Regions from separate parts of the Homo sapiens genome. Here region 1 is linked to region 2. Evidence: promoter capture Hi-C in 16 types of primary human blood cells and fetal thymus (Javierre and others, 2016). All regions are on one chromosome and are shown on one strand. Each heading gives the region's core, a stretch centred on a gene start or on the middle of the fragment in contact. The rest is flanking DNA. Distances are from core to core; before and after follow the strand shown.

Region 1 (6,303 bases), core at 180-2,679, 130 kb before region 2:
ACTCATCTCTGGATGCCTGTAACAGAATATGATACCTGTGTCATTTAAACAAATTCGTATATAGGATAAGAAATCTGAATTAACAGAATAAAATGTTACATTGATTTTAAACAAAGCTCACTGTGAAAGTCTAAATCAGATACTAGTAATTAGTATTTAGGTGACTCTTTTTTAAAAAAAAAAAGCTACTAGCATACTGTTGTAACCATGACCTCTAGCCAAGTGACATAATTCTAGATAGCTGCAACTGGTACAGCTGCAACTGGTACAGTCTTTTTTGTTTTCGTTTTCTGAGACAGGGTCTTGCTGTGTAGTCCAGGCTAGAGTGCGGTGGCATGATCATAGCTCACTGTAGCCTCAACCTCCTGGGCTCAAGTGACCCTCTCACTTCAGCCTCCAGATTAGCCAGGACTACAGGTATACACCACCACACCCAGCTAATTTTTCATTTTTTTAGAGATGGGGTTTTCCCATGTTGCCTAGGTTGGTCTCAAACTCCTGGACTCAAGTGATCCTCCTGCCTTGGCCTCCCCAAGTGCTGGGATTACAGGCATGTGCCACGGCGCCCAGCCTGGTAAAGTCTTAACATGATTCAGTTCTCCTCCTTAGAACCAGGGCAATGCTAGAAGAAGGTGTGTGACCAGAAGCCCTAGGGAAACTTGAGCTGCAAAGAATACAGAGAAGTGAAATATTTCCAAATAATGCTGTCAAATCTATGTGGAGGGAGCATAAGCATGAGATACTGTATTTGTAAAGTGAGACCAGCCTGACACTCAGGTAGGTGTAGTATCCACATTCAGCCAGTTGACATGACTGGGAGTCACAGGGAAGCAAGCCACTAGAAAAGCTTAAAAGCAACGTCCTCAGGAACACAGGACAGGCATGACAAATTGGCTGTAGCATTTCATAGGGGGAATTTGCAGAGGAAGCTGTAAATGACACAGTTTAACCTGCTACCCAACAATATTACGTGGCCAGCCAAAGTGCAAAGGTGATCTTGGGCCATACAGAACATGGATGGGGGCAGAAGTTAACAGTCCACTGGGCAGACTATAAAGTGTATAATTTGGACATTGTATTTTAATAGGGTTACTGGTAAACTGAAGCATATTTGGAAAAGGGGTGACCACGAAAGCAAAGGGTTTTGGGGACCGGGCACAGTGGCTCATGCCTATAATTCCAGCACTTTGGGAGGCTGAGGCAGGCAGATCACTTGAGGTCAGGATTTCAAGACCAGCTTGGCCAACATGGTGAAACCCCCCGTCTCTACTAAAAGTACAAAAAAAATTAGCCGGGCGTGGTGGCGCATGCCTGTAGTCCCAGCTACTCAGGAGGCTGAGGCAGGAGAATCACTTGAACCCAGGAGGCAGAGATTGCAGTGAGCTGAGATCATGCCACTGCACTTTAGCCTGGGTGACAGACTTAGACTCTGTCTCAAAAAAAAAAAAAAAAAAGTAAAGGATTTGGAATGACAGATTAGTGGAGATATTTGGTGGCTTGGAGAAAAATTTAGAAGGCACAAGTGGAAAGGGTACATTTGGAGGTGGGAACAGATGTGTTTCATGTGTCTCTAGAAGACAAAAGTAAGACCAGTGGATAGAAAACCTTTTAGGTCTAATGTGAGAAGGAATGTTTAAATTATTACAATGGCAAAAGGTTGTTTTGCCAAATAGGAGACTGATCACCTCCAAAGTTCCTTCTAATTCTTAAAATTCTAAGGGGAGCAAAAAAAGCACAGACCAATTGTGATAAACTAAAAGAGTCTCACCAAGAAGTGCTGAAGGAGACTACTAAGGGAAAGGAGAAGCAAAGGAATACAGTTTAGTCCCCAGTGCCTAATATCTTGGAAGTAGAGAATCTTTTGTTCAGTTTAAGTTGAATAAATGTATGAAGCCATACAACAACAGAAAATGTTAAGAACGAAAACACAGCGTTCAAAGGATTTGTGGTGTTCTCTTGGAATTTGTTTTCCAAAGTGCAATCTTTGGACCAGAAGCAGCCAAAAGCTTGTTAGAAATGCATGCTCTCAAGTCCCACCCCAGGTCTATTGAATTAAAATCTGTTGGCTAGGTGTGGTGCCTCACGCCTGTAATCCTAGCACTTTGGGGGCCGTGGTGGGTAGATCACCTGAGGTCAGATGTTCCAGACCAGCCTGGCTAACATGGTGAAACACCGTCTCTACTAAATATACAAAAAAATTAGCCAGGCATGGTGGCGGGCACCTGTAGTCCCAGCTATTCAGGAGGCTGAGGCAGGAGAATCCCTTGAACCCAGGAGGCGGAGGTTGCAGTGAGCCGAGATCACGCCACTGCACTCCAGCCTGGGCGACAGAGCGAGACTCTGTCTCAAAAAAAAAAAAACCTGTTTTAACAAATTCCCCAGGTGATTCATATGCAGATTAAAGTTTGCAAAGCACTGTATTAGGAAAAACAGTGTACATGGAGTAAAAACTGAACTCTTGGCTGGGCACGGTGGCTCATGCCTGTAATCCCAGCACTTCACGGGGCTGAGAGGGGAGGATTCCTTGAGCTCAGGAGTTTGAGATCAGCCTGGGCTGCACAGTGAGACCCTGTCTCTGCTAAAAATGAAAAACATTAGCTGGGCATGGTGGCGTATGCCTGTAGTCCCAGCCACTCGGGAGGCCAAAGCAGGAGGATCACTTGAGCACAGGAGTTTGAGACTACAGTGAACTATGATTGTGCCACTACACTCCAGCCTGGGTGATAGAGCGAGACTCTGGCTCAAAAAAAAAAAAAAAAAAAAAAGTGAACTCTTAAGGTTGAGATCATATAGCATATGACCCCAATTCCAAATGCATTCAATAAAATAGGATAAAACTCCAACAGAAACACATTACTACTTACAGAATTAGGCATGGCTGCACAAGAATACAAGGTATCTCGACCTGCTAATCGCTGTATATTTTCCAAAAGTAGTCCAACAAAGGGGAGGTACAATTGTGCTATTTTGGCTTGTTGGTTCTGAAAAATAATTATTGAAAGCTTAATACGTATATAATATGTATATATTACAAATAAATGGAGTTGGCTTCATATATCAATTTAAAGACTAAAAAGTAGGCTAACATCCATAACAAATTACTGAAGCATGAATCTCTTTATACTTATAGTCTGAAAACTAATTACCACAGAACTTTGTTGGCCTTTGGATTTATCCATGATACAGACTCAAATTACATCCCTCAAACATAATGACATGAAGTAAAAGGTTTTTGTAAAAAATAGAAGTTGGCCTATAAAGCAGATGATATTATTCCTGTTTTTCAGCTCCAGTGAGCGTTGAGCTTCATGAGAGCAGGGACAGTGTCTGTCTTGTTCACTGCTTCATCCCCAATGCCTGGGCACATAGCAGATGGTCAATACATATTAGCTGAAGGAATGAATGAGTAAGTGGAAGAAGTGAAAAAATGGTAAGTTACTGTATTCATTCAGGAAACATTTTTTGCTTCCATTAAAGCTACAATTACAATAATATGAACTTGGTCCCCTAAGTCAATTTTAAGACTTGGGAGATTGATATATTTGTAAATATGTAAATAAAACTGGCCACCAGGGCTCTTAATTAATGTGGTACCTCTTATACAAATTTATTTCTTTCCTCAGCTTATAGACATTCCTCGCCAGATATGTATATACACTCAAATCAGAGAAAATAGTGGCTGTGGTAGCACAAGCATTGCCCTCTATCTTTCATGACTTTAGGAGGTTTTTCTGGAGAATTAGATAAGGCCCTCTAGGGCAAAATGGTCAATATGTAGAATGTAGAAGATTACTGGTCTCTTACTATTGTTTTAGTTTGCATTTACTATTGAGGTTGAACAATTTGTCACGTGTTAATTGGCCATTTGCACTTCATTTGTGAATTTCAAAAACCCTTCCCTTCTTAACAGACTTTCTTCCAACATAGTACCCCGTCAGTAATAGTCTCTACCACCAGAAGATTCTGATTTACCAGGTCTGGACTGGTCCAGATGATGCTGATGTGCATAAATGTTTCAGAACCACTAACCTAGTCCAACTTCCTGCTGAAGGCAGGAATGAATGGCCCTTACATGTATCCTTGACAAATAGTTTTTTAAACTTCTTTAAAACTCAAGCCGTTTCATGGGTTCTATTAGGAAGGTCCTTTATCTGAAATACACTCCTCCTAAGTTCTACCTCCTAGGTATAGCTCTGCCCTTTGGAGCTACAAAGAATAAGTCTATTTCTACTTTTGCATGGCAACCCTTTAAATATGTGAATACAGTTACCATGAATCATCTTAACTCATTCTTTTTTTTTTGAGACTGAGTCTTACTCTGTCACCCAGGTTGGAGTGCAGAGGCACAATCTCAGCTCACTGCAATCTCTGCCTCCTGGGTTCGAGAGATTCTCCTGCCTCAGTCTCCCAAGTAGCTGGGATTATAGGTATCCACCACCACGCCTGGCTAATTTTTGTCCCTTTTTAGTAGAAACAGCGTTTTACTATGTTGGCCAGGCTGGTCTCGAACTCCCAACCTTAGGTGATCCACCCTCCTCAGCCTCTCAAAGTGCTGGGATTACAGGCGTGAGCCACCGCTCCCGGCCTTTTAACTCTCATTACTTTCCTTTGTTCCATGACTTTGGTGTCAAGATTTTTCACTTAGTGATTACCCTTTTTCTGGTGGTTCTCTAATTTTTCAATGTCCCAAGTTGAGATTTAAAAGGCAGTATAGCTAGTGGCTGACAGCACAGATTTTGCAGTTAGAGACATGCGCAAAACCCAGCTCTCCCATTACTAGCTACTTGATTACAATCAAGTCACTTAACTACAGTTTTCTCTTTGGTAAAATGGGGGTAATAATAATGATATCAATTAATGTGAGGTATTTAAAATAGTGTTCGGCATATAGTGAGTCCTCAATAAATTTTAGCTGCTATTATTAATATTATGGCTTCTAAATAGGAGTCCATTTTAGTTCTGATAATGAGTGATCTCTAGGGGAAGAGAAATTACAATTCTCTCAGGGAAGCAGGAACACAGGAAAACATACAGTCATTGCCAAATATGTTAAAAATTTTGCCTGCACAACAGAGAATATAACCTAAGTATCTATTAATAGAAGACTAGTTAGATAAATAAAATAAAGTATATCCATATGATAGAATACTATGCAGCTACTTTTTAAAATGCGGTAGATCTAACCTTCAGGCTGTATTGTTAAGTGAAAAAAGAAAAATGTATAATGGTTTCTGTTATATTTTATACATATATGTCATATAGGCTTGTGCTTATATAAAATAGAAGTATAAATAAACTCACAAGAGTAGTTGCTTCTGGAAAGATGAATTGGTAAGTGGAGGTAAGGAATGGGAGACAGGCATTTTGATTTTTGTTTTTCACCATGCACGTGGATTACTTTTTCAAAAAAGGAAAAAGGATTTGCCCACAGCCGAACTAGAAGTAGAATCTGCAGTTCTCTTAGGTATGAACATTACTTGTAGTGGGTACAAGAACTATACAGGCCCCAGGGTAAATGTTAGATATTGAACATTCTTGTTCTGAAAAGGAAAAATGTCTCATGGTAATTATAACAAGAGACATTGCTGGCTGGGCACGGTGTCTCGCACTTGTAATCCCAGCACTTTGGGAGGCCAAGGCAGGCAGATCACGAGGTCAGGAGATCAAGACCATCCTGGCCATCATGGTGAAATCCCATCTCTGCTAAAAATACAAAAAATTAGCCAGGCATAGCAGTGCGTGCCTGTAATCCCAGCTACTCGGGAGGCTGAGGCAGGAGAACTGCTTGAACCCGGGAGGCGGAGGCTGCAGCGAGCTGAGATTGTGCCACTGTACTCCAGTCTGGGCTACACAGCGAGACTCCGTCACAAAAAAAAAAGAGAGAGATATTGCTAAATAGTTTATGAGTAACACATAACAGGGACCAGCAATATCTCCAGAATTTCCTAAGAGCAGGGGCTTAGGAGTGGCAATTGGCTGGAAAGGGTGGGGATGATTAGGGAGTTGAGTCTCAAAGCAGGCTTTTCATAGGAAACATTCTTTTCTTTTTTTGGTTTATTACTTTGGGGTCCCTTTAGAGAACTGATGGAAAATATGAGGGCTTAAGGCTCCCTCCAATCCCTCACCTTGGTGTCATCATTAATAGGAAACATGCTCTACTTGGATGTATTTGATAAATGAACTCTTACACAGGCTGCCTGGAAACTGCACAAAACAGACAAAGGACCTTTTATATCCTCATCCAATACTCTAGAATTGAAACTTTGGTTAACCAAGCCCACGAAGTAAACAAACTTCTTATGG
Region 2 (6,067 bases), core at 1,292-3,791:
CTGGGTGTCCTATTGACAAAGACATTCCCATACACACAACCAACCCAGATTGTAAATAATGAAAACAAATGAAGAAAAAGATCATTTGCATTCTCATAATTATAGAGCATCTAGCATTGTGTGTGGCACATTGTAAGGGCTCAATAGATATTCATTGATTTAGATTACTAGAATCTGTTCTCCCTCACTCCCAAAATCTCAATGTGGTTCACATACTAGAGTAATGAGTAAATATTCCTCTGCATTGCCTGGTGTAAACGGTAAAAATCAATGACCTTGGTCCCAAGTAAGCTGGGCTGACAAGGGAACCATGGCCACTGCCAGCGTCTCCTAGAAAAGACTCCTGCCAATAACAGTTTTTCCTCCTTCGCCATAGAATCAATGGTCAGGAAGGAGCCGCTGAACCTACAATGCACAAAATTCTTTTGAAAACCTAAAAACAGGGGAAAGAATGCTAATGTTAACTTTTTGCTGCTAGGGTGGCAGGTCAAGTGCTGATCAAATCCCAGTGGAAGTTTTCTTAGTCCCATTTATTCTCGAGAAATCTGGCCACCTACAGCTTTCTTCACGTGTTGTGGTAGAAGGCCAGCCAACCCCGCTCAAGGAAGGTTTTTTGTTTTCTCTGAATTTAGGAAAGCGTTCTCTGCTAGGTAGATTGAATCACGTGTTAACAATCACCCAAGATGAGAGCCCTGGTATAAATGCTCTGCACACAGCTTGCCTTCCTCTCTTAACTGGCTGTGATGACAGGCAAGGCTCCAATCTGACCTCAACAGGTCCTCACTCCAAAATCAGACTGAAATACACAAGCCAAGTCCATTAAAGTAACATTAAAGGTCTGGATTTAGCTCCACTAAACAGCAGAATTAAACTTTCAAGGGTCTAGCCACAATAAAGAGATTTCTTTAAAGTCACTTAGGTTTGCACAGTTGTAGCTATTAGGGATCAGATCTTTATCTCAAAGGTACATAGTTTACCTTTGATCCTCCTCCAGAACTCCCACTAATGTCAACTTTCTCCACTGTTGGGATCAAGCCCCTGGCCTCCCTTTAATGCTGGGTTTTATTGCTGATTCTACAAGATCAACAGAAAAATTACAAGGAAAAGCTGTGAAGTTCCCTTCCGATGACAAGTTGTTTTAACAAAAAGAGCCCTCTCTTAAACGGTGAAATTTAAACACAGCAAACGACTCGCTGTAAAATGGAGCTGAGGGAGACAAAAACAAACAAAAACAACAACCAAAAAACAAAGTAACAAAACAAACACTAATTAATCAGTCCGATTGCTTATTCAGGGTTTGTTCGCTTGTCCAGGAAACTGGCAACGAGTGTCTTGAAAACAAGAGAAGGGGCAAGTGCCCGTTAGCACCCTTTAGCCTTTCTCCAGAGTCAGACAATCTGGATAAGGCTGAGGGTGCTCTGGGAGGGTTCCCAGGGAGTCAGCGCGCTTTCGAATCCCCATCCCCCAGTCCTGAGCTGTGGGGCTCTGACCCCAGGTCCTCCATCCCTGGACTGACACACCCAGTCTTCCCCCAAATCCCCACGGCACCGTCCCCTTGGTCCCCTTGCCTCTGGAGCGCTCGCGTGTCCCCGAGGGACACACTCTCCCTGCGGTGGATGACCCTGCGCCCACTCTGTCGCAGAACCCCGTTGTTTCTAATGCCCTTCCTCCGCAGCAGCACCCCTTCAACACCCATCACCACCCTCTCTCCCCAGTTGCAGGAGGAAGTCGCTCTGCTTCCTCTGTTCTCACCGCCAGCCCGAGCTTGGGCGCCCGGGGCTTTCTGGGTGGGGTTCTTTTTTGTGTACACAGTGTGTGTATGTGTGCGCGCGAGAGTGTGTGTGCCAAACGCTCATCGCATCCTTCCGCCTAGGCGGCCTCAGGTGCTCGCGGGAGGGGATCAGGATCTCGTCGTGCCCTTGTCCCCGGCTCTTTGTGCCGAGTCCAGAGCAGCGCGAGGTCAGCTCTTTAGCTCACACCCCCGGCCCCGACCCTGGGTGGGAGCCTCCGCCTCCGCCTCCTCCGCAGCCGTCCGAGCCCGGCTTTTGCCCGTCTGCTTCCATCCCGGCGCACGCCTCCGCCGTGCCGGGCGGCCGGAGAGCTGTCAGCCGGCGCCTGGGACTCGGACCCCGGCCGGCGGCTGCCGGTGCGAAAACTTACTGGAGCGGAGAAAGACAGCGCGCGGCGCACCAAGCGGCCGCACTGGCGCCGTTCCTGCCCCTTCCCGCGTCGCTCCCGCCTGGAGCGCGTCCCCCGGGATGCCCCGTCCCCCGGCCACTCACCAGCACCACGGAGCCCCGCACGGCCTCAGACACGCTCTGCCGGAGCTCAGCCGCCGTGCCAGGCTTGCTGAGCCGTTTGGTGAATTTGCGCACTTCGGCCATGGCAGCGGCGGCGGGCGGGTCTCGGCGGGCGGGCGGACCTCGGCGGGCGGGTGGACTCACTGCCCCGGCCCGCGGCGGCCGCGGCCGCTGCTGCTCCCTCTGTTTACTCGCCGGCCGGCCGGCCACATCGCAGCTCGGCGGCGGCGCGGCTCACGCTGCTCCTCCCTCCCACCTCCCACCCGCTGCTCCTCCCTCGTTCCCTCCTTCCCTCCTTTTCTCGCTCGCTTCGCCCGCTCACTGTCCTGCCCCACGGCGTCGGCGGCGGCAGCTCCCTCCCCTAGAGGGCCCGAGCTCCGATCGCCACCAGCCGAAGCAGGAGGGTGTGTCTGATGGGGAAGGGTGTGTAGAGGGGGAGGGAGAACTGGAGGTGGGGGCGAGGGTCACGAGGGAAGAGGGGGGAAGTGGCTACCGCTCGGGCTCCGCCCGCAGCTGATGTTGCTGGTGCAGCCGCATCCGGGAGGGGAGATCTGGGCTGCTTCTTTTTTTCCGCTTGAGTGGGGAGGGCGGGGTGGGGTGGGGGAACAGAGAGGGGTGATGAAATGTCTCCAAGAGTGGGGCGTGCTCCTCTCCCGCCCTAGTGCTCCTCTCCCGCCTCCGAGCTGCAGTGCCCGCAGGAGGGCTGGAGAACTCTCACGTCCCTCCACCCCGCAAGCCCCCAGGGCCCAGGCGGCTAGGGGCTGGAAAACAACGTGGAGCAGCCGCCTTTTGTGTGCTCCTTGGGGAAGGGTCGCACCAATGTCGAAGGACAGAGAGCTGCTTTCCAGCGTGAGCGGCTCGACTGGGTCCCCCTCCTCGCCCACACCGTTTTCCTACTCAGTTGGCTCACCTAACAGGGGGCAACACTGGGGAGAGAGCATGCTTCTGGAAGTGGGAACTTATTGTGGCGGCACCCCTCGCTCCGTCCCCCACGGGGGAGAGCTGGGTGGTGGAGCCTGAGCCTGTGGCAGGTGATCCCTAGGTCAGCACTGACTGCACCAGGAGTGGGGTGGGGGTGGGCATTAGGATGAGCCTGTGGCAGGTGATCCCTAGGTCAGCACTGACTGCACCAGGAGTGGGGTGGGGGTGGGCATTAGGAAGGCCATCTCCCTGGGTTTGGTGGACTTACCAATCTTATAGTAGCTTTTACAAGTGCCCTGCACTCACCTCTCCATTTCCTATTCATCTCCTTACTCTTTTCAGCTTCCAAGAAATTGTTTTTCCAAGAATCAAAGAACATCTCATAACAGGGTATAAAACGAACATGCTTAAGACAGAAATAGGGACGGGAATCTTGAAGTACTAGTGACCCTGTCAGACCTCCTGAAGTGCAGAGTGAAAGGCTCCACTGATGGTGGCAGTTTTCTATCTGGTTATTTCATTTGTTGAGAGTTTGAAAATGGCCCTCAGTCTGGGGGACCGAGCAGCCCTTCTGAAAGCAGTCCTACCACCACCCATCGGGCACTTTCCCCACCCTCAAAGACCAAACAGTCTTTTAGGGGACTTTATTATGGAAACAAGGGCATGCGTGGTGATGGTTTCTTTGAACCCAGAAAAGGCCAAGTCTCTTCGCAGTAAGCCTATTTCAGCCATCCCATCAGTCTCAATAAAGCATATATGGAGGCTCCTAGAGGGCCTGGGACCTGGAAGTCCTCTAAAGACATTCTGTCACAAATCTTAGTTTTGCACAGTACGTGTAAAATTTGTTAATTGTTGCGTGTAGGCTGATCTCCAAGAATTCATACCCTCTGTTCCATAAATGCCTGTGTGGCTCATGCTGTTGGTTACCACCACAATAGCTATAACACTTTTTGCTTGCAAAGAGAGCCCAGATTTACTTCAGATATAGGGCAGAGCCACAGGGTTTAAGGAAGGCAGGCCCAACTCCAGGTGATGAATCATGACTGATGAAAAAACCATGATAAGCTCCCTCTTATTGACTAGTGGGATGGTCTAGACTCCCAATCGGTTTGGGCCAATAAGATATAAGAGGGAAGTGTGAGAGGAGGGTTCCTGGGAAAGTTTTTCTACCTTGATGAAAAAAAAAGGAGAGAGGCCCAGGCCCCACTTTCTTCCTGAGAGGGATGTTTTCTTGCAATGCTTTGGCCCTTGGCAGCCATATTGCAACCATGAGGCAAGGCCAAGGCAATCTCAGAGAAGCCAATGTAGAATCCAGACAGCATTGAACTGTTGAACCAGGCCTGATACTGCCTACCTCTAGTTCCTTTTTATGTAAGAAAAATAAACCCCTGCAGTTTATGACACGTTTAGATGAATATTCTGTTACTTTCAGCCAAAAGCATTCTTAGTACCACAGGCTCTATGGTAGCCACTGAAGGTGCACAGCATTGAACAAGACAGGCAAGGTCCCTCCTCTCCTGGAGCTCACATGTCAGTGCAAAGAAATGAACATGTTAATTTCAGAAACATAAATGCTATGTAGAGAATTAAGGGGAGTTGATAGAGAGTAACTGGAGTTGGGGACCTAGTTTAAAATAGATGATCAAGAAAAGCTTCTTTGAGGAGGTAAACACTGAGCTGAGTCTTAAAGAAGCAGTCAGCAGAGATCAGCAGGTAGACCATTCCAGGCGACAGAAATGCCAGGAACGAAGGCCTAGAGATGGGGGCAGACTTAGTGTGTTCAAAGACCAAAAAAAGGCCAGTGTGGCTGGAGCGTAGAAGGAAGAAGAGTGGTACAAGATAGAGTAGGAGAAGTAAGCAATTTCTGCAGAGTATTGTGAGCCATGGGAAGCATATGTCACACTGATGGTGCACAAACACCATCTGGCCATTGTGCAGGCTCTATGCTCATTCTTGAGATTGTAGATTTCACTTCTTCTGGTTTAAGACTTCTATTTAAATACATAAACATTGAGCATGGTGCTACACACTGAGGGAGAATGCAGTATGAATTAAAGACACTATTTCCTTCTGGGAAAAAAAAAAGAAAGTCTAGTAGAGAATGTATTTATGGTACAAAGTAGTATGTGATACAGACCATACTCAAGGTAAAGAGGCAGGAGAGGCCGAGCGCGGTGGCTCATGCCTGTAATCCCAGCACTTTGGGAGGCCGAGGTGGGTGGATCACCTGAGGTCAGGAGTTCGAGACCAGCCTAACCAACATGGCAAAATCCGTCTCTACTAAAAATACAAAAATTAGCCAGGTATGGTGGCAGGCACCTGTAATCCCAACTACTTGGGAGGCTGAGGCAGGAGATCACTTGAACCCGGGAGGCAGAGATTTCACTGAGCCAAGATTGCACCATTGCCCTCCAGCCTGGGCAAGAAGAGTGAGACTCCATCTCAAAAAAGAAAAAAGAAAAAAAAAAGGCAGGAGAGATCATATCTTCTTAGGTCTATGAAAGGTTTTCTGGAACAGGGGGTGTTTGAGCATTTGAGCTGGACTTTGCGGAATGGGTAGGATTTGGATATAACTGCACTCACATAGTAAAGAGAAATCGTAGGTGCAATCTTACAACTTCCAATAGGGCATTTTATTGGGCGATTTCTTTTCCACATTCGTTAAATATATTCAGTTTTTATCACAAATTTAGCTGCTGCATTAACACTATCCTAATTCTATCCTAATTGAACCTGAGATACAAGTATTAGAAATGCCATTGAGCCCTTTGACTGAGAAATTCCACTTGTATAAATCAATGCCAAATAAAAACTTGCATATGTGAGCTCAGATGCCTGTATAAGGA

What was found. Contacts are between HindIII fragments. The CHiCAGO score rates a contact against its expected background, and 5 or more counts as called.
Region 1: a contact is called between a fragment that was not itself captured here and the fragment with the promoter of DOCK11 in region 2, in 1 of 17 cell types (activated CD4 T cells). The highest score is 7.6, in activated CD4 T cells.

Annotation. Positions count from the first base shown.
Region 1 is chrX:118,621,217-118,627,519 of GRCh38, reverse strand. It overlaps DOCK11 (dedicator of cytokinesis 11), which reads right to left. Exons shown (of 53, transcript NM_144658.4): 32 at 2,865-2,981; 33 at 1-16. Among named protein-coding and RNA genes, the nearest start is that of IL13RA1, 100 kb to the left of the region's middle. The HindIII fragment of the contact is 1,159 bases long and covers 850-2,008 here.
Region 2 is chrX:118,492,289-118,498,355 of GRCh38, reverse strand. It overlaps DOCK11 (dedicator of cytokinesis 11), which reads right to left and starts at 2,541. Exons shown (of 53, transcript NM_144658.4): 1 at 2,283-2,541. The coding sequence starts at 2,384. RefSeq lists silencers at 2,014-2,073, 2,244-2,303, 2,394-2,473, 2,584-2,723 and enhancers at 1,753-2,731, 3,134-3,203. The HindIII fragment of the contact is 5,195 bases long and covers 1-4,875 here.